Regions from separate parts of the Homo sapiens genome. Here all the other regions are linked to region 6. The links are contacts of gene promoters, found by promoter capture Hi-C in blood cells and fetal thymus (Javierre and others, 2016). All regions are on one chromosome and are shown on one strand. The core of a region is centred on a gene start or on the middle of the fragment in contact, and the rest is flanking DNA. Distances in the headings are between cores, read along the strand shown.

The links. The method cuts DNA at HindIII sites, captures the fragments that hold promoters and counts their contacts. A CHiCAGO score of 5 or more calls a contact.
Region 1: a contact is called between a fragment that was not itself captured here and the fragment with the promoter of AGPAT5 in region 6, in 1 of 17 cell types (total B cells). The highest score is 5.7, in total B cells.
Region 2: a contact is called between a fragment that was not itself captured here and the fragment with the promoter of AGPAT5 in region 6, in 2 of 17 cell types (fetal thymus and monocytes). The highest score is 5.0, in fetal thymus.
Region 3: a fragment that was not itself captured here is called in contact with the fragment with the promoter of AGPAT5 in region 6 in 2 of 17 cell types (fetal thymus and naive CD8 T cells); the score reaches 8.5 in fetal thymus.
Region 4: a contact is called between a fragment that was not itself captured here and the fragment with the promoter of AGPAT5 in region 6, in 1 of 17 cell types (monocytes). The highest score is 5.7, in monocytes.
Region 5: a contact is called between a fragment that was not itself captured here and the fragment with the promoter of AGPAT5 in region 6, in 2 of 17 cell types (M0 macrophages and M2 macrophages). The highest score is 7.1, in M0 macrophages.
Region 7: a fragment that was not itself captured here is called in contact with the fragment with the promoter of AGPAT5 in region 6 in 1 of 17 cell types (M0 macrophages); the score reaches 7.4 in M0 macrophages.

What each region holds. Positions count from the first base shown.
Region 1 is chr8:6,332,207-6,335,896 of GRCh38, forward strand. No RefSeq gene overlaps it. Among named protein-coding and RNA genes, the nearest start is that of MCPH1-DT, 72 kb to the right of the region's middle. The HindIII fragment of the contact is 896 bases long and covers 1,461-2,356 here.
Region 2 is chr8:6,349,605-6,353,396 of GRCh38, forward strand. No RefSeq gene overlaps it. Among named protein-coding and RNA genes, the nearest start is that of MCPH1-DT, 55 kb to the right of the region's middle. The HindIII fragment of the contact is 253 bases long and covers 1,944-2,196 here.
Region 3 is chr8:6,379,402-6,383,138 of GRCh38, forward strand. No RefSeq gene overlaps it. Among named protein-coding and RNA genes, the nearest start is that of MCPH1-DT, 25 kb to the right of the region's middle. The HindIII fragment of the contact is 4,168 bases long and covers 1-3,737 here.
Region 4 is chr8:6,284,453-6,288,136 of GRCh38, forward strand. No RefSeq gene overlaps it. Among named protein-coding and RNA genes, the nearest start is that of MCPH1-DT, 120 kb to the right of the region's middle. The HindIII fragment of the contact is 1,854 bases long and covers 420-2,273 here.
Region 5 is chr8:6,267,064-6,270,577 of GRCh38, forward strand. No RefSeq gene overlaps it. Among named protein-coding and RNA genes, the nearest start is that of MCPH1-DT, 140 kb to the right of the region's middle. The HindIII fragment of the contact is 4,880 bases long and covers 1-3,514 here.
Region 6 is chr8:6,706,846-6,710,331 of GRCh38, forward strand. AGPAT5 (1-acylglycerol-3-phosphate O-acyltransferase 5) reads left to right here and starts at 1,797. Exons shown (of 8, transcript NM_018361.5): 1 at 1,797-2,042. The coding sequence starts at 1,824. MCPH1-AS1 (MCPH1 antisense RNA 1) reads right to left here and starts at 1,364. Exons shown (of 5, transcript NR_125386.1): 1 at 1,296-1,364. RefSeq lists silencers at 1,551-1,890, 1,951-2,190. The HindIII fragment of the contact is 5,238 bases long and covers 1-3,486 here.
Region 7 is chr8:6,248,187-6,252,126 of GRCh38, forward strand. No RefSeq gene overlaps it. Among named protein-coding and RNA genes, the nearest start is that of MCPH1-DT, 160 kb to the right of the region's middle. The HindIII fragment of the contact is 1,578 bases long and covers 966-2,543 here.

The DNA of each region.
Region 1 (3,690 bases), core at 659-3,158, 370 kb before region 6:
TAATAAATGTTTGTTGTTTTAAGCCACTAAATTTTGGGGTAATTTGTTACACAGCAACAGATAGCTAATATGCATCCCAAGAGGTAAAAATAAGTATTCATTGAGTAACTTCACTGTGAAATTTTAGTACAGGAAATGCAAACAGAATATATTTAAAACAACTGGAAAGGAAAATGTAGAACATCTGCAAAGAACAAAGATTAACAAACATCAGAAAATAACCAATCAATAAAAGGCTAAGAGACAATAAGCAACTGCCTAAAAGTTGACACCCAGTTACTATCATCAAAGAGTGAAGGGAAAATAAAGACACATCAGAGACTATCTGCAACTCACAGATCCTTGCTTAACAAACTTTTTTTTTTTTTTTTTGAGACGGAGTTTTACTCTTGTTGCCCACGCAGTGAGCCGAGGTCGCACCGCGGCACTCCAGCCTGGCGACAGAGTGAGACTCCATCTCAAAAAGTAATAATAATAAATTGGGGGAAATTAAAAACACGTTGGAACTAAATATTGAAGAAAATACTACGTAAGGAAGGAAGTTATTAATCAGAGATACATATTCTTTTTTTTTTTTTTTTTTTTTTTGAGACTGAGTCTCACTCTGTCGCCCAGGCTGGAGTGCAGTGGCACCATCTCGGCTCACTGCAAGGTCCGCCTCCTGGGTTCAAGCGATTCTCCTGCCTCAGACTCCCGACTAGCTGGGATTACAGGTGCGTGCCACCATGCCCAGGTAATTTTTGTATTTTTAGTAGAGACGGGGTTTCATCATGTTGGCCAGGATGGTCTGGATTTCTTGACCTCGTGATCCGCCCACCTTGGCCTTCCAAAGTTCTGGGATTACAGGCACAAGCCACTGCGACCAGCCTAATCAGAGTTAAATATTCTTAAGTCGTGTGTGTGTGTGTGTGTGTGTGTGTGTGTGTGTGTGCGCCCGTAAAGAAAGGGGTCTCAATATGTTGCTCAGGCTGGTCTCAAACTCCTAGGCTCAAGAGATCCTTCTGCCTTTGCATCCCTAAGTGCTGGGATTACAGGATTACATGCATGAGCCACCAAGACCAGTTGACCCTTGAACAACATGGAGGGTTAGGGGTACCAATCCCTTGGGCAGTCAAAAATGCACTTATAACTTTTGACTCCCCCAAAACATAACTACTAATAGCCTACTGAGAGGTGAAGCCAGCTGGACTTCCTGGGTCCAGTGGGGACTTGGAGAACTTTTCTGTCTAGCTAAAGGTTTGTAAAAGCACCAATCAGTACTCTGTAAAATTGCACGAATCAGCACTCTGTGTCTAGCTTAGGTTTGTAAACGCACCAATATGCACTCTGTAAAAATGGACCAATCAGCACTCTGTAAAATGGACCAATCAGCAGGATGTGGGCGAGGCCAAATAAGGAAATAAAAGCTGGCCACCTGAGGCAGCAGCAGCAACCCCGTCAGTCCTCTTCGACTTTGTGGAAGCTTTGTTCTTTCACTGTTCGCGATAAATCTTGCTGCTGCTCACTTTTTGGGTCCGCACTACCTTTATGAGCTGTAACACTCACCAGGAAAGTCTGCAGCTCCATTCCTGACATCAGTGAGACCACGAACCCACCGGGAGGAACAAACAACTCCGGACGCACCACCTTTAAGAGCTGTAACACTCATTGCGAAGGTTTGTGGCTTCACTCATGAAGTCACTGAGATCATGAACCCACCAAAAAGAAGAAACTCTGGACACATCTGAACATCTGAAGGTACAAACTCTGGACACACCATCTTTAACAACTGTAACACTCTCTGTGAGGGTCTGTGGCTTCATTCTTGAAGTCAGTGAGACCAAGAACCCACCAGAAGGAACCAATTCCAAACACAGAAGGATTAAAGCGAGCTGTATAAGGAGGAAGGGATCAATTCACCACAAAGATGATCACAACTTATGTGAACTCGTGTGGCCTTAACAATATAGCCTCAAAACATGGAATTGTTTTTGAAAACATTCCAAGGAAAAATGGTCAAATCTACAGTCATACTGAAGAGTTTAATATATGTCTCTTACCAAGTGATATAACCAGCAGAAAAAAAAAGATTCAAAAAGTATAAACAAAACAATAAACAAGCCTAATCTAATGAGCATATATAGAACCCTGCACCCAATAATTATAAATGAATTTTCCTTTCAAGTACATTATACAGGGAACAATTACAAAAATTGATCACATTCTTAAGTTGTTCATGAATTTTCGACCAATGTAATTGAGTCAATGTCATCCTGACCATGTTCGTTGACCATTAAGCAATAAAATCAGAAGCAAATATCCAAAAGTTCAACAAAAAAAAAGTTATATAGTTACCACTTAATGTCATTGCAAACAAAGCTTTAGGAGTCAGCATACTCCCCTTCTCCTCCTGGAAATCATAAAGAAGCAGCAAGGAGAACCAAAGCCACTTTTATAAACCCCATTTTTTTAGCGAAACCAGGAGACAGATATAACCCACAGACTACAAATTATCTACAGAAGCTTCCAAAAGCCACTGAAATGGGGCAAAAGTCACTCAAGAGGAATTGAAGACAACAAAACACAGTGGAAGTTAATCTTGTAAAACGCCAGCAAAAACATGCTCCCTGGGGGTGAGGGAAAAACAAAAGGCAACAACTATATCCCTTATTTGCAGCAACCTACCCTCGATTTGCAACAGTGGGCGTGGAAATGGTAGGGGCGGGGTGTCCTGTGTGGTTCAGTGAAACCAACAGCAGGGATAACACACATGAGTCATGTTTGTCTCTGTGACCGCCAGAATTCATCTTTCAAGTATAAAAATAACTAACAGTAAATAAACATACAAGAACTCAAGGAACATTGTTCCCATGAGTCTTCCTGAGGAGATTAATAAAGGATGAATCTCAGCCAACCAACTTAGGGAAATAACAGAAAAAAAAAATGGCTGACTATATAGAACTAAAACATAAACAACTCTAAAGTTTAAAGTAGTAGACTGTAACATGCATGTTATATTCCCTGACAGTGCAGAAAAGATTCGTTTAGTAGAAATGTGGCAGGAAAGTGAGAAGAAAGCATGGAAATTAGGATAAATTCATTGAATGCTTAATCCAAAATAGCCAGTTCTAAAATACAGCTTAGAGCTAAAAAAGTAAGTAAATTCTAAACATCCATTATAGTATTAAGACAATATGATGAATAATAATATTAATAAATGTAAAATAGGTGGTTGAGGAATGGAAATGGGGAAAAAAACAAGCTAATTTTATGATTCTTCTTAGAAACTAATAGATATTCTTTAAAGAAATAGAGTTCTGAGATAATTATATGATTATATAAAAGTAACCCTAAAATAAAAATACGAACTTTACTAATTACCCAAAAATTAAGAAAAGAAACAAAGCAAAGAGTTCACAGTTAACACTATATATATATTTTTTCTTTTTCTTTTTCTTTTTTTTTTTTTTTAAACAGACTCTTGCTCTGTCACCCAGGCTGGAGTGCAGTGGCGTGATCTCAGCTCACTGCAACCTCTGCCTCCCAGATTCAAGCAATTTTCCTGCCTCAACCTCCTGAGTAGCTGGGATCACAGGTGTGCGCCACCACACCCAGCTAAATTTTGTATTTTTAGTAGAGACAGGGTTTCACCATGTTGGTCAGGCTGGACTCAAACTCCTGATCTCATGATCGGCCTGCCTCAGCCTCCCA
Region 2 (3,792 bases), core at 820-3,319, 360 kb before region 6:
TTTTTGTATTTTTAGTAGAGACGGGTTTTCACCGTGTTAGCCAGGATGGTCTCGATCTCCTGACCTCGTGATCCACCCGCCTCGGCCTCCCAAAGTGCTGGGATTACAGGCGTGAGCCACCGCGCCCGGCCGATAATATCTTTTTATCAGTAACATTGTCTGGTTATATTTGCTTGACTTCGGCAAGTTCGCTTCTGGAACATCAGGACACTGTGGAGATTAAGTTTCTTCCCATATTGTTGTTTTTCCCCCCAAATCATCAGGCAACCTGAGCTTTGCAATACCCAGAATTGTCCACAGTCCTAGGTCCTTTTGCAATCACGATTACGTCTCCATTTCTTATGTGTCTGTAACCTCATTGTGACCTTCAGTAATTTCTCATTTGAGGTTATTTTTTCCTGGTTTGAAGCATGACTGTGGCAGTCATCTTAATGAATGATGCTTGTTGAGACTGGCCACAGTTAAAGAGTGAACTCTGGCTATCACTCAAGTTTCTATTGATCAGTGAAATTTCAGGGGGGAAATCAATAATTAGCAATTTCTTTTTCTTTCCAAAATATTGGAGGAAACAAAGACATGTGATCGGTTATTTACTACTCCAGTTGGTGCAGAGAATTCAGGAGCTTACCCACAGTCACTTAATCTTTCTCTGCTTTAATGAAGCTCCAGCCCTGACTTCAGCATCAGGTCAATTTGACTGATTGCTGGGGGACTTGCCAAAATTACCTACTGCCCTTAGTTGTTCAATTCCAGAAACTGGAAAATAACTTTGGAGGCAACTTTAGGAGGAAGACTATTTGTCCTCTATATAGTCTAACCACCACCCCAAGACCCCCTATCTTCCTCTTTAAGAAACAGGAGATAGGGCTGGAGGCAGATGGGCTGAAATCTAAAATAGGTTGCAGCAAATATTCCTACAGTCATAAAATATGCAAAAAGCATCCTTTAAATGTTAAGTATTTGGTTGACTCATATGACATTGCCGCTTTTGTAGACTAAGGACAGTGAAATACCAGTGATTTCTTATATTTTAACCTAAATAAAGCTGGCCAGGCTCTGGGGATACAGCAGAAAGTGAGGCAGATACAGCCTTTGCCCTTAAGGCAGGGAAAATGACATGAAGCTTTGTCACATGACATGTTATTAATTATGTTGTGGGCTCTGCCACAGAGCAGGTAACAGAGGAACTTTCCACTGGGGGTAGTTCTGGGATGGCTTCTCTGCAGACGTGACCTGGAGGTTTCATGCTGAATGACGAGCACAGGCTGATAAGCAGAGGCCGGAGGAGGTGGGGACATTTCCGGCTGAGGGGACCACCCCAGGGGGAGCTTGGGGAGCTGTGCAGTGACTACAGATAGAAAGATGGGGTTCATCAGAGCACCACACAGTTCCCTGGGAGGCAACCGCCCTCAAGTGAAACTCCCAATGAGACACTATAGAATTCTAAATATTTTATAATGGCATTTATCTCTAGAAGCAAGAAAAACGCTATGGTTGATGGAAAGACCAAATAGAATTAGATACGACGTCAATAACTTTGCATGGCACTAAAATGTCTTATGGAATTAATTTAGAGTTTACAAAATGGAGATTTCGGTTACACCTGATTTAGGAATTTTACCATTTATAGATGAGATTGTAGTGATTATTCAGATGCAATGAACAGAAGGGAAGAAGCCAAAATCAATCTTTCTAACAAGATTCTCTACACTGCTTGCAAGCTTTTGTGTTTCATCAAATATATATTTGGAGTTATTTTTCCTCCAGATGAATTAATTCTCCATTTCCTGGTTTAAAGTATTTCCTTTCCTGCTCAGCTGTCTCATCTCTGAGAGTGTTTTTATATTTCATCTGCATCATCAAGTATGTTTACCTAAAATGGGCCCTCTGACACAAATTTACACGTACCTGTTCCAAAATTCAGGTTCATTTTGGGGGTCAGAAGCTTTTCCTCTTTAGGAAGGCCACACAGCAAAGTGGTTAAATATAAAAACTAACAAACAGAAAAGCTGGGCTTTGGAATCCACAGGCCTGGTTCTGATTCCCACTGCTGTGTAACATGACTTTGTACAAGGCACTTGATCTCTCTGAGCCACAATTTTTGTTTATTTTAAAAAGGAAGATAATTTTAAAAATGTGCATAATAGAGTTTTTATGAGCAGTAAATGTCATAGTGCATATATTCACTTAACAGAAAGCTTGGCACGTATTGTGCTTAATAAACAGCAATCATCATTTTGTTCAATATTATGTGCAATTCATGATTTTCCTGAAGTAATCAATAATAATAACTTTTATTGAACATACCCTTTTAGGCCAGGCACTGCTTTGTAAATTTAACATATATCACCATATTATTTTAAATCCCCTCAAAGTTGATCTTATTTTTATCAGTTTGGGGAATGAAGTAGTGTAATGCAGTCTTCAGAGTACGGTTTTCAGAGCCGGAAGACCTGAGTTCCATTGCTGATTCTGTAATTTATTAATAGCAAGAACTTGGGACAGTCATTTAGTTCCTCTGGGTCTTTGTTTCCTCATCCGAAAAATGGGATACACTTATCAGCTTATATAGACTTTGTGGGAACTGACTGTGACATAACATGAAAATTACAAAGTACAGGCCGGGCACGGTGGCTCACGCCTGTAATCCCAGCACTTTGGGAGGCCAAGGTGGGCAGATCACGAGGTCAGGAGATCGAGACCATCCTGGCCAACACGGTGAACCCCACCTCTACTAAAAATACAAAAAAAAATTAGCCGGGCATGGTGGCGGGAGCCTGTAGTCCCAGCTACTCGGGAGGCTGAAGCAGGAAAATGGCATGAACCCAGGAGGCGGAGCTTGCACAAGCATCTGTTCTGCTTGCTGTAAAGACGCATCCAGGAATAAATATAGTCTTTGTCAGAAATTTACTTAAACTAGTGGAATTGGGGCAGGGCACGGTGGCTGACACCTGTTATCCCAGCACTTTGGGAGGCTGAGGCAGGCAGATCACGAGGTCAAGAGATTGAGACCATCCTGGCCAACATGGTGAAACCCCGTCTCTACTGAAAATACAAAAATTAGCTGGGTGTGGTGGCGTGCATCTGTAGTGCCAGCTACTCGGGAGGCTGAGGCAGGAGAATCTCTTGAACCCAGGAGGCGGAGGTTGCAGGGAGCCAAGATCGCGCTACTGCACTCCAGCCTGGTGACAGAGGAAGACTCCGTTTCAGAAAAAAAAAAAAAAGATAATTACAAGGTACAGCTCCTTATGCATAGTAAACATAAAAAAATCTTAGCCTGTTTTATGATTTTCACAAGGAAATTGAGGCTCTAAGAGAATAAGTAGTTTATTAAAGGCAGCAAGTGTCAACACCAAGATCTGAGGGCAGCTCTAAGTCCAAAGTCTGTGTTCTTTCCAGGAGACGATTTGAGTAAGTAACCTTGACCCCTGTTATTCTAAACACTGAAAAGCTTGTCTACTTGCCCTTGTCGGACACAAGTTGGCTAAATAGATTGTGGTCTTTCAGCTACCATATTCACTACAGTTATCAGTTGCCTTGTTTTCCCTAAGGGTGGCTACTTATACCTTACAAAATCATCCATCTGAACTCCAGGACTTTTCAGTAGCAGCTGGATAAGGAATGAGCCATGGAGATAAATACACAAGGATAAGAACTGGCTGCCCTCACATGAAATCCAACATCTTTATAAAAGTAATATGAACATGCTGAAAAAATAAGGGCTTTTCTGCTTATAAGAAGATACATTACATTCGAAATAAAGATTTTCTGCTTATTACTATTTTAATGCAT
Region 3 (3,737 bases), core at 819-3,318, 330 kb before region 6:
GTTTGTTGTACAGACGATTTCATCAATCAGGTATTAACTTTAGTACCCATTAGTTGTTTTTCCTCATCTTCCCCCTCCTTCCACCCTTCACTCTCTGAAACGCCCCAGTATGTATTGTTCCCCTCTATGTGAGAGCTAAATGATGAACATTTTTCATCCTTATCTTCGTTGACCCTTCCACATCTGAAATTGTGACCTCCTCCCTCTCTGTGAAACAGAACCTTCTCTTGCCTTCCTCACCACCACCCTTCTGGTTTGCTTCCTACCTTCCTGGCTACTCCCTCTTACAATCCCTTGCCTATTATACCTCCTCCACCTCACTCATAAAGTTTGGAGCCCTTCAGAGCTCTGTTCTAAGTGGCTTTGCCTTTTCTTTTCTCATCATTCAATAATGCAACAAAATTTAGTGAACCTCTGTTATTCACAAGCACTTACGAGGCTTGGGTACCCTGCAGTGAGCAAGAGAGGTGAACATTGAGTAGATAATGACATGAGGAAGAGCCAAGACGGGAGGTTGGAGAATCCATGAGGAAAAAGTCATGCAGTGCCTCACGGGCTGCAGTAAGGATCTGCATATTCCTTGAGGATAGCATAGTCATTGAGGGACGTTAAACAGAGGAGTGATGTGATCTCATTTGTGTTTGTATAAGTCCACTCTGGCTACAGCAGTAAGAATAGATTGGGGTTGGGAGTGGGGACAATCACCATCATTCTTGGTCAGGCTTACTTTGAGACAGAGTCTTCCTTGTCACCCAGGCTGGAGTTCAGTGGCACAATCTTGGCTCACTGCAACTTCCACCTCCCAGATTCAAGCGATTCTCCTGCCTCAGCCTCCCGAGTAGCTGGGATTACAGGTTTGCACCACCACACCCGGCTAATTTTTGTACTTTTAGTAGAGACAGGGTTTCACCATGTTGGCCAAGCTGGCCTCGAACCCCTGACTTCAGATGATCTGCCCACCTCAGGCTCCCAAAGTGCTGGGATTACTGTCTCCCCAGATAGTTTTGGCGTTAAAGTATATTGAAGGATGGTAGTCACTGAATATTTCACATGCTAGTCTTGTGGTACAAAAATATAAATATATACTCCAAGGTCATGAACTAAATGAAAATACTAATAGGCAGGGGTTAGGGACTGATTTGTGTCTCCTCCCGCATCTTGTATGTTGAAGACCTAACCCCAATGTGACTGCTTGGAAATGGGACTTTTAAGGAGGTAATTAAGGTTAAATGAGGTCATAAGGGTGGTCTGTAATCCAATGTGTCTAATATCAGGACCTGATTAGATTGAACTTTCATAGTCTCCATTCTGATAATTTCCTCATTAATTTTATAACCAGAGGTCACGTGCTGTGGCTCACACCTGTAATCTCAGCACTTTGGGAGGCCAAGGTAGGCGGATCACCTGAAGTCTTGGGAGTTCGAGACCAGCCTGACCAACATGGAGAAACTCCGTCTCTACTAAAAATACAAAATTAGCTGACCATGGTGGTGCATGCCTGTAATTCCAGGTATTCAGGAGGCTGAGGCAGGAGAATTGCTTGAACCTGGGAGGTGGAGGTTGCAGTGAGCTGAGATTGTGCCATTGCACTCTAGCCTGGGCAACAAGAGTGAAACTCCATCTCAAGAAAAAAAAAATTTGTAACCAGTAAACAATTTTTGATTACAGTTTATTCAAACCAATAAAATTTTTGCTGCCCTGATCCTTTGATTAGAATTTAAAGGGGGTTGGCTGGGCACGGTGGCTCACACCTATATTCCCAGCACTTTGGGAGGCTGAGATGGGTGGATCACGAGGTCAGGAGTTTGAGACCAGCCTGGCCAACGCAGTAAAGCCCCATCTCTACTAACAAAAAATACAAAAATTAGCTGGGCATGGTGGCAGGCACCTGTAGTCCCAGCTACTCGGGAGGCTGGGGCAGGAGAATCACTTGAACCCAGGAGGCGGAGGTTGCAGTGAGCCAAAATTGTGCCACTGCACTCCAGCCTAGGCAAAAGAGCGAGACTCCGTCTCAAAAAAAAAAAAAAAAAAAAAAAAAAGAATTTAAAGGGAGTTTATATTAGCCTGAGTGTTATCTAGGCAATTTCTCTTCTAGAAAATATAGATGAAACCCACCACCAAATAAAATTGAAATTAAAAGAAAAAAACCCACAAATTTAAAAACACAGCTGAACTGTTCAGTGCTTCTGCCCCAGAAGAGAAAATGAAGATGGCCTTTCATCACTCAGGCAATCCCGCAATGGTTTCAGGGAAGAGCTCTACCTAGGGCACTGTTCAAAAGCACTTTGATAGTACTTTTTGATTCAGATTTTAAATTTTAAAAATCACCTAAAATTTTTCAATGGGATCATAAATACCACCTTCCTCCACAATCTCAAGGCAGTGTTTTTATTCTCTCTCCACTGTTTTTCTTTTAAATCTTTCCATTTCCTACCCATTTTTTGTTTGGCCATTTTCAGTACTTCAGAGCTGTGAGATTCAATGCTGCTCTCTGAGATGTCATTATTTATGTTATTCTTACCTGGTTGACTTGTTGTATCTCCTTTTTACTAGTGAATTGTTAAGGATTAAAGAGACCAAGAGGAAAGAGGCCAAGAAGACTATCAAAATACAATAACGGTATTTGTTTTCACATGTAATAGTAACATCCAGGGTTCTGTTTTATCCAGAGGATCCTTTCATTATCGGCTATTGAGACATGTGGAGAACATCTCCTCTTAAGAAATATTTTTAAACTATTAAATGACAAATTACCATATACCATTTCTGGGGATATATTCAAAATGATTGAAAGCAGGATTTTGGGCTGGGTGTGGTGGCTCACACCTGTAACCCCACCACTTTAGGAGGCAGAGGCAGGTGGATCACGAGGTCAAGAGATCGAGACCATCCTGGCCAACATGGTGAAACTACATCTCTATTAAAATACAAAAATTAGCTGGGTATGGTGGTATGTGCTTGTAGTCCCAGCTACTTGGGAGGCTGAGGCAGGAGAACACTTGAACCTGGCAGGCAGAGGTTGCAGTGAGTGCACTGTACTCCAGCCTGGTGACAGAGTGAGATTCCACCTCAAAAAAAAAAAAAAAGAAAAGAAAAGAACAGAAAAGAAAGCTGGATTTTGAAGAGATGTTCACACCCACATTCAGACCCCAACAAATTCCAACAGACCTGCAGCTGAGGGTCCTGACTGTTAGAAGGAAAACCAACAAACAGAAAGGACATCCACACCAAAGCCCCATCTGCACGTCACCATCATCAAAGACCAAAGGTAGATAAAACCACAAAGATGGGGAGAAACCAGAGCATAAAAGCTGAAAATTCTAAAAATCAGAGCACCTCTTCTCCCCCAAAGGAACGCAGCTCCTTGCCAGCAATGGAACAAAGCTGGATGGAGAATGACTTTAATGAGTTGAGAGAAGGCGGCTTCAGACGATCGGTAATAACAATCTTCTCTGAGCTAAAGGAGGATATTCGAACACATCGCAAAGAAGCTATAAACCTTGAAAAAAGATTAGACGAATGTCTAACTAGAATAAATACTGTACAGAAGACCTTAAATGACCTCATGAAGCTGAAAACCATGGCACAAGAACTACGTGATGCATGCACAAGCCTCAGTAGCCGATTCGATCAAGTGGAAGAAAGGGTATCAGTGATTGAAGATCAAATGAATGAAATGAAGCGAGAAGAGAAGTTAGAGAAAAAAGAGTAAAAAGAAACAAACAAAGCCTCCAAGA
Region 4 (3,684 bases), core at 97-2,596, 420 kb before region 6:
GTTAATCTTGTTGAAGTTTATTGATTCCACAATGTGCATTGAGTGCTTAGTAGGTGCTAGTTATGGTGCAGGCAAAAGACCAAAAAACGATACTGTAAAGGGCTCGCATTTGCCAGGGATGTGACCAACTCCTTCAGGGTGAGTCTGGTGATCCTCGCAGCAGGAGTGGGGAACGAATGAATTCTGCCGTGGCTGTCCTAGGAGGCTTAATGGAGTGAGGGTCTCCGAGTGCACTAAGGTTAGCCATAGAGAGAAAAGATGAGGAAAGACCTTCCAGGCTGGAGGAAGAGCCAGAGCAAAGCCCAGAGGCCCACAGGAGCTGGGCATTGTGGGAAACAGAAAGTGGCTTTGTGTCTATAGCAGTGGCTACAGTGGAGGGCACAGAGAAAATGTGGCCAAAAAAAAAAAAAAAAGAAGAAAGCTTTGACAGTCTCACTCAGGATTCTGGACTTTGCCTAAGTCTAATGGCAATTGAGAGCCATCAGGAGATTTTAAGCAGGAAAGAAACGTGATCAGATTAGGGTTTGAGAAAGACGGCTCTCTCAGCAGTGCAAAACCTGGATTGAAGTGGGGAGAAACTGGTGTGAGAGCCAAGATAAATCTGAGCCTCTGCAGACTTCTCCACCTTCCTGCGTAGACCCTGAAATGTGTCTTTAATGGATTCTATAAATTTCCACACAAGGATAACAACCTAGTGAAAATTATAGCATCTGTATCCACCAGTTTAAACTCCATTATTATAACCATCCAGGGCAACATGTGTTATGATTTCAAACAAAGAGGTTACCATTGATACACAAGGCAGGTCGTGGAGCTCACTTATCGGAGATGCTCAAGGTTTTAGTAATAACGCATTCCTGACAGCAGCAGCAGGGCGTTTAATCAGAATGATCTTCCTTCCTTTCTCCTTTGGGACTACATCCCTCCCACTCCAAAAGTGCCCCTTTAAGGCTAACATTCTTGCTGATTCTGACTGTTCATGCAAAGTGTATTTCTAACTAAAATGCTTAAGTGTTACAATAGCTGCTTTTTTGGTTTTTGTCTTTTGTTTTGGGGCGGTTGAAATTTATCCTGGTAATGGTTGCAGAACATCATATTTTCTCTTTCTACCTATTTCCACATCATTTGCCACTGTTTCTTTTTTTATTTTATTTTTATTTTTGAGATGGAGTCTTGCTCTTGTCACCCAGCCTGGAGTGCAATGGCACGATCTTGGCTCACGGCAACCTCCGCCTCCTGGGTTGAAGCGATTCTCCTGCCTCAGCCTCCTGAATAGCTGGGATTACAGGTGCCCATCACCACACCCAGCTAACTTTTGTATTTTTAGTAGAGATGGGGTTTCACCATGTTGGCCAGGCTGGTCATGAACTCCTGACCTCAAGTGATCCACCCGTGATGGCCTCCCAAAGTGCTGGGATTACAGGCGTGAGCCACCATACCCAGCTTTGCAACTATGTCTATAGCCACCCTTCACATGCTTGCGTCTAGTCTGCAAGCTGACATCTCCTTTGTGCCCCTGACTTACTGCCTTTTGTGATTATTCCTTTTATATTATGCCTCCCCCACTAGAGTTCTCCAGAGAAAAAGAGCCCATATGGATATAGAGGAGGCAATTTATTATGAGAACTGGCTCACATGATTCTGGAGGCTTTGAAGCCCTGTGATCTGCCAGCTGCAAGCTGGAGGAGACCCGGGAGAGCCAGTGGTGTAATTCAGTCCAAGTCCAAAGGCCTGAGGCCTGGAGGAGCCAAGGCTGTGAGTCCCAGAGTCCGAAGGCCCAGAAATCAGGAGCTCCAACATCCAAGAGCAGGAGAAGATGGATGTCCCATTTCAGATAGAGAGAGTAAATTCTCCCTTCTACTTTTAAACCCTCAACAGATTGGATGAGGCCCACACTGATGAGGGTGGGCCTTCTTCACTCCATCTACTGATTCGAATGCTACTCTCTCATGGAAATACCCTAACAGACACACTCAGAAGCAATGGTTTGCCAGTTATCTGGGCATCCATTAGCCCAGTTGAGTTAACACATAAGATTAACTGTCACATTCTCCTACCCGAGTCTTCCTTTCTGTGGCTTAAGGAGTATGGCCCCACTCACCCCTCAGTGTCCAGGGATGGTCCCATATTCCCAGCTTGACCAATATGCGTACTTTCCCCCAGACACAGTGGCCATTCAGGGACAGCCAGTTGACCATAATTAGGCCAATAAGACTCATTCCTGGGATTCCTGGAGATTCCGGAAAAGAGATGCTCCCTTTCCTGAACCTGCAAGCTTTAAAGCCATGAGCTGCCAGGGGCTCTACATGGAACCTGAGAAGGAAGCACATCTCCAGAGACAGAGAGCTGACATAGAAGGAAGGACAAAGAAGGTTCTCGGGAATTGTTTGAGCAATGGGGCTTGACTGTTACTACTGCAAGGAACTCTGAGTTCCAGCACTTCTTGTTTTCTTCCCTTTAGCAAGTCTGAGTTGGGTTTTCTGCACCTGCACCTAAAGAGTTGCAACCAGCATCGCAGGCGACATCTCTGGTTCCTGGAGGTCTGGAAGCAGTGCAGAGGGAAGCGTGGGAACTCACAATTCCACTTGGTCCTATGAGTCACTAGCCCTATCTCCACAGCCTCTCAAAAGGTACATGATGCAAATCCCTCCCCACAAATCTTCATCACCGTGTTCTCATTCATTCATCCCATTAATATCTTCAAGCTCTTCTTGTGGGTCAAATGAGGTAGTTATGTTAAACTCTAATTTGAGACCACACAAGTTGAATAAGGAAACTGAAACTATTCCAGGTTTTGTACAAGATTGTAACGCTCACAAATTATGAAGGTAGAATCGACAAGTGTTGAATTCTCTGCCCTATGACATTGCCAAGTGAAGACATGTTTCTCACCCTCATAGTCCTCCCGAAGAACTGAACACATAAACACAACAAGTGACTACACCGTAATGAGAAATAGAATAGTGATAAACAAAATTCCACCGGAGCATAGGGAAACACCGGGAAGCATTCTGGGAGATCAGTGGTCAAAAAAAAGAAAAACCGTCAGAAAGGAGGTTTTGGGTGCCAAAGAGTGAAGGAGAGCATTATGTAGGAGAGAGTGGAGAATGCATTGCAAACAGAAAGACCCACTTAGCAATGACTGGGAGGGGTAAAGAAGGCCACATGCACTAAATGTGGCCCGGTGCCTAACACAGCTCAGCCTGGGGGTGAGGTTTGGGAAGGTGAGCTGTGAGGCTAAGAGAAGGTGTCAGTAGACATTAGGAGAGGTCTGGAATGCCACACAGGCACATGTGCCCTTAATCTCTAAGGAGATGATCCCTTAAAACTCTCAAAGCAAGAGATTGGTGCGATCAGATCTCTCTCCTCATCAAAGGAGCTTTCAGATTAAAAGAGACGCCCATGGGCCGGGTGCGGTGGCTCACACCAGTAATCCCAGCGCTTTGGGAGGCCGAGGCGGGCGGATCATGAGGTCAGGAGATCGAGACCATCCGGGCCAAGATGGTGAAACCTCATCTCTACTAAAAATACAAAAATTACCTCGGCATGGTGGTGGGCACCTGTAGTCCCAGCTACTCCGGAGACTGAGGCAGGAGAATTGCTTGAACCTGGGAGTGGAGGTTGCAGTGAGCCGAGATTGCACCACAGCACTCCAGCCTGGCAACAGGGCAAAACTCCATCTCA
Region 5 (3,514 bases), core at 1,002-3,501, 440 kb before region 6:
AAGAGAAATAACAGGCTGAGGCAGAAGAATGGCGTGAACCCAAGAGACGGAGCTTGCAGTGAGCCGAGATGGCGCCACTGTAATCCAGCCTGAGCCACAGAGCGAGACACCGTCTCAAAAAAAAAGAAGAAAGGAAAAGAAATAACAAATTGCCGACAGCAGGACTTAAAAGGGGACTGTTACTACAGATCCTATAAATATTAAAATTATAATAAGGGAATATCATGACAGTAAGTTTCATAACATATGAAATGGGAAAATTCCTTGAAAGACACAAACTACCAAGGCTCAAACATAGATAACCTGAAAAATCCTACCTCAATTAAGGATATTGAATTCACAGCTTAATATCTTACAAAGAAAATTCCAGGCCCAGTTGACTTCACTGGTGAATTTCTCTAAAAAATTTGATAAGGAAATAATAACAATTCTCCATGTTTGTTCAGAAAATAGAAGAGAAAACACCACTTCCAAGTCCCTTATATGAGACCAAAATTATTCTGATACTAAAATGAAACAGATACAAGAAGAAAAAAAACTATAGACCATGAACAATAACCATAAAAATCCTTAACAAGGCCAGGCGTAGGGGCTCACGCCTGTAATCCCACCACTTTGGGAGGCCGAGGTAGGTGGATCATGAGGTCAGGAGATTGAGACCATCCTGGCTAACATGGTGAAACCTCCACTCTACTAAAAATACAAAAAATTTAGCCGGGCGTGGTGGCGGATGCCTGTAGTCCCAGCTACTCAGGAGGCTGAGGCAGGAGAATGGCGGGAACCCGGGAGGCAGAGCTTGCAGTGAGCCGAGATCACGCCACTCCACTTTAGCCTGGGCGACAGAGCGAGACTCCGTCTCAAAAAAAAAAAAAAAAAATCCTTAACACAATATTAACAAAATGAAGCTAGCAATATATGAAAAGAAAAATATACCATGACCACCATGACCAAGTGATATTTATCCTACGAATGAAAATTGGTTTGATATTTTAAAATCAAGCAATATAATTTACTATATTCATAGACTAAATTGCAAAAAAAAAGTGATTATATTAATAAATGTGTGAAAAGCACTGATAAATGTTGATATCCACTGATGATTAAAAACTCTCACTAAACTAGGAATATGAAAGAACAATCCAGAATTTTGACTGACTACTTACTGGTAATTGTCTATGTTCTACTACATCAAAAACTTAAATAAGGAAGCATAAGTAAACTACAAGTGTAATCATAAAACTTTGTTTTAAAGAAAGAATTCTTCATTGACCATCTGGCAGATTATTTTTTCTTTCCTTTAAAAACTTCCAAATCCTCTCAAATCTTTTTTAAATCACATGAGAGTCCTCAAAGACAACAGACAGCATGCAATAGACCATAAGTATGGGGCTCTGCTGGCCGACTATTTTGCAAAGCTGTCATTTATCTTTTCCTTCTGTGATCCTCACATCGTCTTTTTGTGTCATTGTGGTTTGGTTTTCACTCATTTGAGGTTAAAAATGCTGAGGGATTTTGTTTTCATTTTGAAGTATAAGAGACATTTATAGCTTTCTAAAAAAGACACCTGGTGACAATCAGGAGGTTTTCTTTAAAATTCTTTAATCAGGCCAGGCGCAGTGGCTCAGGCCTGTAATCCCAGCACTTTGGAAGGCCAAAGCGGGCAGATCATGAGGTCAGGAGATGGACACCATCCTGGCTAACTCGGTGAAACCCCATCTCTACTAAAAATACAAAAACAAAATCAGCCAGGCGTGGAGGCGGGCGCCTGTAGTCCCAGCTACTGGGGAGGCTGAGGCAGGAGAATGGCGTGAACCCAGGAGGCAGAGCTTGCAGTGAGCCAAGATGGCGCCACCGCACTCCAGCCTGGGTGACAGAGCAAGACTCCTTCTTAAAAAAAAAAAAAAAAAAAAAAAATCTTTAATCAGCTCAGAGAGTTAATTAGTCACTTGGTGACCCCACCCCTGTGGGTAAAGTAGGCCCACCAAGCATATATCATTAGCATATATTCTATTTCATTCAAAAACAATACTGATAGAGGAAACAATTATTCAGATATCTTAATTAACTCATCCCAGTGCTCCGATTTAAACACCAGATTATCACCTGGTACTTACACAGCAATTCAATTTTAATCTAGATAGGTATAAAAGTATACATAAAATAGAGGTAAACATACACATACACAATTAGGACATAGTTTTGAAATATTAATCAGACGATTTTTACTTTTCCACCATTTAAAGTAGACAATAATGGGAGGCCAAAGTGGGAGGATCACTTGAGGCCGGGAGTTCAAGACCAGCCTGGAAATCAGTGAGACTCCAGACCTCCATCTCTAAAAAATAAACAAATAAAAAGATAAAATGAAGTAGGCAATGAGGCTAGAGGCTTTGCCAAGAACACCCCCCAAAAATAAAAAGGGTGCAAAGTCTTGCATACAAGTATCATATATTGGTGTATTTCTTCTTCCCTCTATTTTCTCTCCATTTTTCTTCCAGGGCCTCAAAAAAATTTCCCTCTGGGCCCGGCACAGCGGCTCATATCTGTAATCCCAGCACTTTGGGAGGCCGAGGTCGGTGGATCACTTGAGGTCAGGAGTTCAATACTAGCCTGGCCAACACGGCAAAACCCCATTTCTACTAAAAATACAAAATCAGCTGGGCATGATGGAGCACACCTATAATCCCAGTTACTCAGGAGGCTAAGGTGGGAGAATCGCTTGAACCTGGGAGGCAGAGATTGCAGTGAGCTGAGATCCTGCCACTGCACTCCACCCTGGGCAACAGGATGAGACTAAAAAAATCTTCCTCTGGAGCTGCACTAGGGCTCCTCCCAAATTCTAGTTACTTTATTAGGCATTCATTTAACAAACTCGATCAGGTGCCTGCCATGGGCCAGGTACTGGGCTACAGAAGCAGACAAAACAAAGTCGCCTACCTTTTTGGAGTTTGCAGTCTAGATGAGCAACACATACAAGAGCCAGATAGGAAAGCATTAGGCTGCCGGGCGCGGCGGCTCAGGCCTCTAATCCCAGCACTTTGGGAGGCCGAGGTGGGCGGATCACGAGGTCAGGAGATCGAGACCATCCTGGCCAACATGGTGAAACCCCGTCTCTACTAAAAATACAAAAGTTAGCTGGGCACGGTGGCGCGTGCCTGTAGTCCCAGCTACTGGAGGCTGAGGCAGGAGAATCGCTTGAACCTGGGAGGTGGAGGTTGCAGTGAGCCGAGATCGCGCCACTGCACTCCAGCCTGGCAATAGAGCGAGACTCTGTCTCAAAAAAAGAAAAAGAAAAAAAAGAAAGCCTAAGGCATGTCATATGGTGCAAAGTACTGCAGAGAAAAATAAAGGAGAAAAGAGCACCGGAAAGAGGTGGGTGCAACTTTAAAGAGAACGGTCATGGAAGGCCTCCCTGAAAGAGTCACGTTTGACCAACAACAGGAAGGAGATGAGCGATGGGGCCATGTGGATGTCAAGGAAGAGAACAGACTACGCAACAAGAACAGCCTGTGCA
Region 6 (3,486 bases), core at 547-3,046:
CAAATTTACACATAAACACATATTTACTGACTTTATACACAGCAATCCTAACGTGAACACAGAACCTGCTTTATCTTTTCGCACACTGTTCTAGTGTAGAGATGTCTGGTCTCAGTTAAAGAAAGCATAAGGAGCATTAGTTGTGCACACTGTCCACACCTGTGACTTTTTTCCACCAGTACTAAACCTAGTGCTTCTTACAGTACAGGACAATGACAGCCACAGAAAGAGAGAAGCTCCTTTTACTGTGTAATGCTTCCTGCTGGCCTTCAAATACTTGTTACTTGAGAGATCTCCATTCACCTGGCTTTGTCCCCAAAGGTCATCATCTACCAATGATGTTGTTATTTGATGTTAATCATGTATAAAGAAAGTAGCTACCATCCTGGCCCTGATTAGAACTTCCCACTGAAATACCGTCCTGCCTAAAGGTAGCACAGGCTCCCATTATGGTGGTGGTGGGGAGGGGGCGGGAATATATATATATATATATATATATATATATATATATATATGGTAAAGCATTCGGCATTCTTTTAAAGTACAACTATCCTTGAAAAGGGTTACATATTAAACCATTTTTACCACAGCCAAAGGGGAGGAGAAAGATCCAAAAGTCCTGTGGATCTGCTTTAACATCAATAAAACAGTTATCCACCCTTCGTAGCTTTTAGTGAAGGCTACAAAAGTATGCTTTTTATGGATTACACATGTGCACGCAACTACTTTAATTACTACAGAAAAAAACGAGGCTCCTTATTAAAAAAAAATCAGAAACAAGTCCAACAGACTCTGAGGAAATGAAGCAAGAGTGAATTCTGAAAAGGTCTAATAAACAGTATGGAAATATCCTTGTGGGATTGTTCTTCAGCTATGCATAAACATGTAATTATCATCATTACTGTGATGGGGAAAAACACGGACCCTAATTCTGAAACACCCTGGTAGCGAGAGACGGGCAGGAGGGGCTGCTGCGCACTCAGAGCGGAGGCTGAGGAGGCGGCGTCCCCTTGCAAAGGACTGGCAGTGAGCAGATGGGGACACTCGAGCTGCCCCGCGACCTGGGCCGAGCTGCCTACAACCTGGGCCCAGGTGCCTGCAAGAATTAGACCTCCGATAACGTTAACACCCACTTTCTCACTGCTCTAATTGTGTGCATCCCGGCGCCCAGGGGCTTGTGAGCAGCAGGTGCGCGTTCCAGGCAGCTCCAGCGACCCTTAAACCTGACCGCGCGCACGTCCGGCCCGAGGGAGCAGAACAAGAGGCACCCGGACCCTCCTCCGGCCAGCACCCACCTTCACCCAGTTCCGTCAGTCGCCACCACCTCCCTTCCCGCGTCCGCAGCCGGCCCAGCTGGGGAGCATGCGCAGTGGCCGGAGCCGGGTTGCCCGCGCCCCAGCAGGTAGCTGTACTGCAACTGTCGGCCCAAACCAACCAATCAAGAGACGTGTTATTGCCGCCGAGGTGGAACTATGGCAACGGGCGACCAATCAGAAGGCGCGTTGTTGCCGCGGAGCCCCCTGCCCCGGCAGGGGGATGTGGCGATGGGTGAGGGTCATGGGGTGTGAGCATCCCTGAGCCATCGATCCGGGAGGGCCGCGGGTTCCCTTGCTTTGCCGCCGGGAGCGGCGCACGCAGCCCCGCACTCGCCTACCCGGCCCCGGGCGGCGGCGCGGCCCATGCGGCTGGGGGCGGAGGCTGGGAGCGGGTGGCGGGCGCGGCGGCCCGGGCCCGGGCGGTGATTGGCCGCCTGCTGGCCGCGACTGAGGCCCGGGAGGCGGGCGGGGAGCGCAGGCGGAGCTCGCTGCCGCCGAGCTGAGAAGATGCTGCTGTCCCTGGTGCTCCACACGTACTCCATGCGCTACCTGCTGCCCAGCGTCGTGCTCCTGGGCACGGCGCCCACCTACGTGTTGGCCTGGGGGGTCTGGCGGCTGCTCTCCGCCTTCCTGCCCGCCCGCTTCTACCAAGCGCTGGACGACCGGCTCTACTGCGTCTACCAGAGCATGGTGCTCTTCTTCTTCGAGAATTACACCGGGGTCCAGGTGAGCCGCCTCCCGCTCCCGGGTCTCGGCGTCCACCCGAGCTCCCGGGGGCGCGGACCTCTCCGCTCCCCCACAGCTGGCGAGGGTCACCCGGCCGGCCCGGCGGACCCAGCACGGAGAGCACGTGCCGCCTCCCCGCCTTCCTCTCCGCATGCTTCCTGCCGTTCTGCCGAGATCGCTCTCTAGGAAGCTGTGGCTGCGTCGTCCTGAGGCTACGAGTGGGACCCGCCGCCCCTTTCCCCGCCCCTCGCCTGGGTCTGATGCTGCTTAGCAAAGTGGGTGCAGATGCACGTTTTAAATAATAGGGCACGCGTTTAGCAGTTTCTGGCCTTTGGTCCAAAGAGGTGGTCATGTTGGAACAGATCGGAGACGTCTACACTCCGAAGTGCGCTTTTACAGTGACCTCTTGAAACAGAAGTACAATTCGGTCTTGTGTTCTTTCCCCTGGACAAGTGAAAGCTGGGCGAAGAAATGAATACATTTGTTAACCGTAGAAGCCTAACTAGATACATTTCTTGCCAACTTTAACTGGGCTTGAATGTGTGGGTGATCTGTTGTCTGATTACTTTCTTTCTGTTACTGTTTCTCTGTAGAGATTGGATTCGTAGATTAAACTTGAGAAACAAACCATAAAAGTGGAAGGCCCTCTTTAACAGTAGGTATTTGAAGTGTTATAAAAAAAAAAAAAAGGTGAATTTTTCTTTTATTTCTCAGTTTGAAAGAACAGCTTTATTCTTGGTTATTCCTAATGTCCACCTAGTCCTCTTTTACTTTTCTTGGTAGGGTTAGGGTGGCATGGGGAAATGGGACGGTATCATTTTGTCTTTTTAACTTTTTTTTTTTCCACCTACAGCAGCTGTTTTTACCCTGTGGTCAGTCAGGTACTATATTTAGTTTGCAGTTGCACTGCTGATCGACCCTTGATGGCCCCAGTTGGAAGTTGTTTGGGGGGAAGGAACTAGGAGAGGCCAGGGCCTCCATTTAAACCAGTGTCTGTAAGTGTCTCCTTGGAAAGAAAAAAAGATACTGTTCCAGGTCATGGTTTCCTGGTAGTTGACGTTTAAAATGGGCCTCATTTAAAAATTTCAATAATTCAGGCTAATTTTTTCCCTTTATATGGTAACTCCACCAAGTTTGTCTAAATGTATGATTTTTATCATGATTAAGTTTTTACTTCCACATCATGTGACAACTGGCCTGGGATGGGATATAAGCTCAGAACACAAAGTCATTCACCTCTTAAAAAAATAATTCTATCTGTGGCGGGTTATGTTATTTTTGTTCAAAGAGGACACAATATGATGCAGAATACACCATTGAAGGATTTTTTGGTTTGGCAAGTTCTTATTTTTTTAAATGGCTGTAAAACCTAGCAGTGTTTCTGAAATTGCATACCTTACCTGATGTTCAGAGATCCGATTTACTTCTTGATTTCCCAGCAAGT
Region 7 (3,940 bases), core at 505-3,004, 460 kb before region 6:
CTACAGGGACGAGTGGATGACCCAATGGATTCTACACCATCTTCTGGCCTCTGTGCCCATGCTCCACTCCATGTAAGTCTGGGTTCTTTCCTGTGATGGGCTGCATCTTTCATGATGGCAGGTCACCATCAACGACTCACTCCTCCTACTTCTTATATTATTAAGTATCTATAAGAAAGGACTGCTCCCTGGATCAGCCTTGCCCTCAAAGTAGTGTAGGTTCAAGTGGGAGAAGAATTGGAGAGGAGAATAAACAAGGCTTCTGCAGCTCACCAGGGGAAGATGACTTTGAATTTCTTTAAAAATTGGATCTTTTATCTCACTGGGAGGTGAGACTAGAGATGATAAAAGGACAGAAATGAACAGAAGCTCCCATACCTCCATCAAGAGCCCACCACCCCCTCCACCTCTGAAGAATTGCCAATGATTGATCTCTCTGTCCTCTCTCATTTCTTCTACTGCACCCCTGCCCCTGCCTTGCTGTAGCTCAAAGCATCACATCTCACTAGCTTTTTTTGTATTAGGCAAATAGTACTGAGCCTCAGTTTCTCCATACTATCTCCAAAGATGGTTGTGAAAATTAAAATGAGGTCATATGGGCAGTGACCCTCACACTGCCTGGTATATAAAGGGCACTCAATAAAAATTTCTTTCTCCTGGCATATTAGAGAGTGTGGCATGAACAAAAACAGCAGAGCACTTGTTAAAACCCTCAGATTTTCTCTTTTGTTGAGTAGACCTAAAACAGGAAACCTCTTGCTGGGTAACTTACTGAAACTTTAAGCCTCAGTTCCACATCTGTAAAACTGTGATAAAATTACTTCCTCATAGGAGGATTTGTAAAATAAAAAGATGAGATAACGCCTCTAGAATCTTTAACATAGGATCTGAAACATGGCACTTTTCAACAAATGGTAGCACCTGATAATGATGAAGCAGGATTCTACAACAGCTTTTTCTGGCTAAGCTTGGATTCAAATTTTGGGAGGGCAGACAACACCTCCACCCACCACCCCTAATATAGTTTTATACCTGTTGATATCAATGGCAGCTTTTTAATATATCTGGGTGAAAAGAATGCTACATAGATTTCTCATGGTTTTCCCATTCAACAAATCCAATAGAGCTGAAGTGTAAATAAGAGAAAAATACATTTAATTTATTAGATTAGTCATAATTGATCAATGTTGAGAAAACAAAGCATGGAACATTTATGGTTTGAGCACTATTGTCCTAAACAGTTTAAGGTGGGGAGCAAAAGTCAGAAAGGAATTTACAGGTGCCACAAGCCCCTATTTGATCATTTAGTTTGGCACGAGGGTTGCACAATCCACACATTCCTGCAGGTAAACAGTGCAAAGACAGATGTATCCATCTGCATGTATATTCTCCCCGGCCACATTGCTTGCAGGAATGTGTGCTTTTATCATCTGAAAATCCTTAAACGAGTCTGACAAACCATAGAATTACTTTAAACAAGTATCTGACTGCCTCCTAATGTTTGGAAATAGAAGCATAGATAAATGACTAAATTGGCAAAGAACTTTCTAGGGGAACATTGATTGGCTCTTCACCATCTTTCTACAACTCTTTAGGGAATGATCCTGCTGGAAAATGTTTGCAAAGAGAGTTTAAGAAATTTCTCCTTCTTCCCTGATTCCTCAAAAATCATTCATCACACCAAGGGCTGAAATAAAGGATGTTTTGGACAACTAAGAAGTCTCTGCCAGGCGCAGTGGCTCATGCCTGTAATCCCAGCACTTTGGGAGGCCGAAGCGAACAGATCATGAGGTCAGGAGATCAAGACCATCCTGGCTAACACGGTGAAACCCCATCTCTACTAAAAATACAAAAAATTAGCCGGGCATGGTGGCAGGTGCCTGTAGTCCCAGCTACTTGGGAGGCTGAGGCAGGAGAATGGCATGAACCAGGGAGGCAGAGCTTGTGGTGAGCTGAGATCATGCCACTGTACTCCATCCTGGGCGACAGAGCAAGATTCCATCTCAAAAATAAATAAATAAATAAATAAATAAATAAATAAATAAATAGGTAAATCTGTTCAGGGCTCTCAGCTCTGAAGGTTGTGAGACCCCTGATTTCCCACTTCACACCTCTATATTTCAGTGTGTGTGTCTTTAATTCCTCTAGCGCCGCTGGGTTAGGGTCTCCCCGACCAAACTGGTCTGGGCACTAGTTAGGCTCCCAGGGCTCAAATCTCAGGTCTGTCACTCTGTTCCTTGGACAACTTATTTAACCATATCATGCCCCGGGTTCCTTCTTCTGAAAAAAAGGCCAAGTCCTGAAGTTAAGCATGAATCCTAATCAGCATTTCCAAGAGTCCCTAGAACACAAGAGGTGCTGTGATTATGAGTCCTCACTCTGTTCTTCTGCCTAAACCACCTCCCTCCTACAGTGCAGAATCTCCTGGAGGGAGGTGATTTAGGAAGCAGAACAGAGTGAGAACTCTCTCTCTATCATTCTCTCCGTCTCTACCATTCTGTCTGTACCACTTGGAGCTCTGGACTCCCAGATGCATGAACGCAAGCTTCTGAGCCAGCTGCCACTGCCCTGACTCTCGTGCTGTAGTCAGGTTGAGGGCCAACCGGCCCTTCAAGCTCTTCTGCCAGGTAAGATTGCAGCAAGGCAGCCCTCATTGGACACCCCATCTGCTGGCACCTTGATATTGGACTTCCCAGTCTCCAGAAATGTGAGAAACAAATCTGTTGTTTAGAATATACCCAGTCCGCGGTATTTTGTTACATCAGCCTGAGTGGACTATCATGGGCACATTCGCATCTTGGAGCAATTGAAATGTCAGTCTACTCCATCTGCTTGGAAGTCAGAAGAGGACCCAGTGCAAAATAGAAAGGCAGGGGCTCTTGTTCATAAAGCAGGAACATTTGTCCTTTGCTCAACAGTCTCTACTAGTCCTGTGCTTATTTCCTATTTAATGTCACTCTCCTGGGGGCATGGGGATCTACATGTGGTGAGTGCAGACTCATACAGGTGCCTAGGTGCCCATGGAGTGCAGCTCACAACTCCTTGCAGAGGTGGACGCACCTGACCATGACCTCCCATGGCCTGGCGCAAAGGCACTAGAAGAGGTGGTAGGGTGGGCAGGGGAGAATCTGCCCTGGGGGAGGGAGGACAGTGCACCCGGCCAGCACCAACCACAACACATACTCCATTGCTCCATCAGAGGTCATCAACAGAACGCAAAGTCAAGGAAGAAACGAAGAACTTCAATAGGGCGACCACAAAGAATTAAACCAAAGTCCACAGGTCACACACTCTCAAAGCTGGTCCTGACAGGAAACTTGCTTTAGTTCATCCCTTTACAAAAGAATACCTGGTCTCATCTGAAATGTAACTCATCACTTGAGGCTGTGATAAGATTGTCACCTCCCCCAGCTAGTCCCAGCTGCCAACTGCCCGAGGAAGTCTCAATGCTGAGACACGGGAAGGGTTTTTGCACCTTGAACAAGGAGCATCTTGACTTCTAGTGCGTGAAAATGGACTTTCATCATTGACTGAACAAATAAAAGGGCAGATTCCATGATCAAAAAGCCAATATGCCACGCTCTTGCTAGAAAAACAAAGAGTTGTAACAACACAGCCATACAGATATCTAGAGAAATCAATTCACAAAACCTCATCAGCTAGTGTCCATACCGTCCTCAGGTTTTTATTTATAATGGGGGAATTGTAACAAAATCCACCTTCTAGGGTTGCTGTTAGGATTAATAAGATGAACACAGAGCTGAGCCCAGAATCTGGCATATAAAGCATTCAATAAGCAATAGCCAATGTGGTGATTATTATTGAGCGAGAAAAGCATATTCGGTTGCAAGGACATGGAAGGTAGAACCGCATTATCACACACAGACCAGATCAAAACACAGTGATACGAAAATTGTGTTTTGGATGCAGTGCAGAGGCC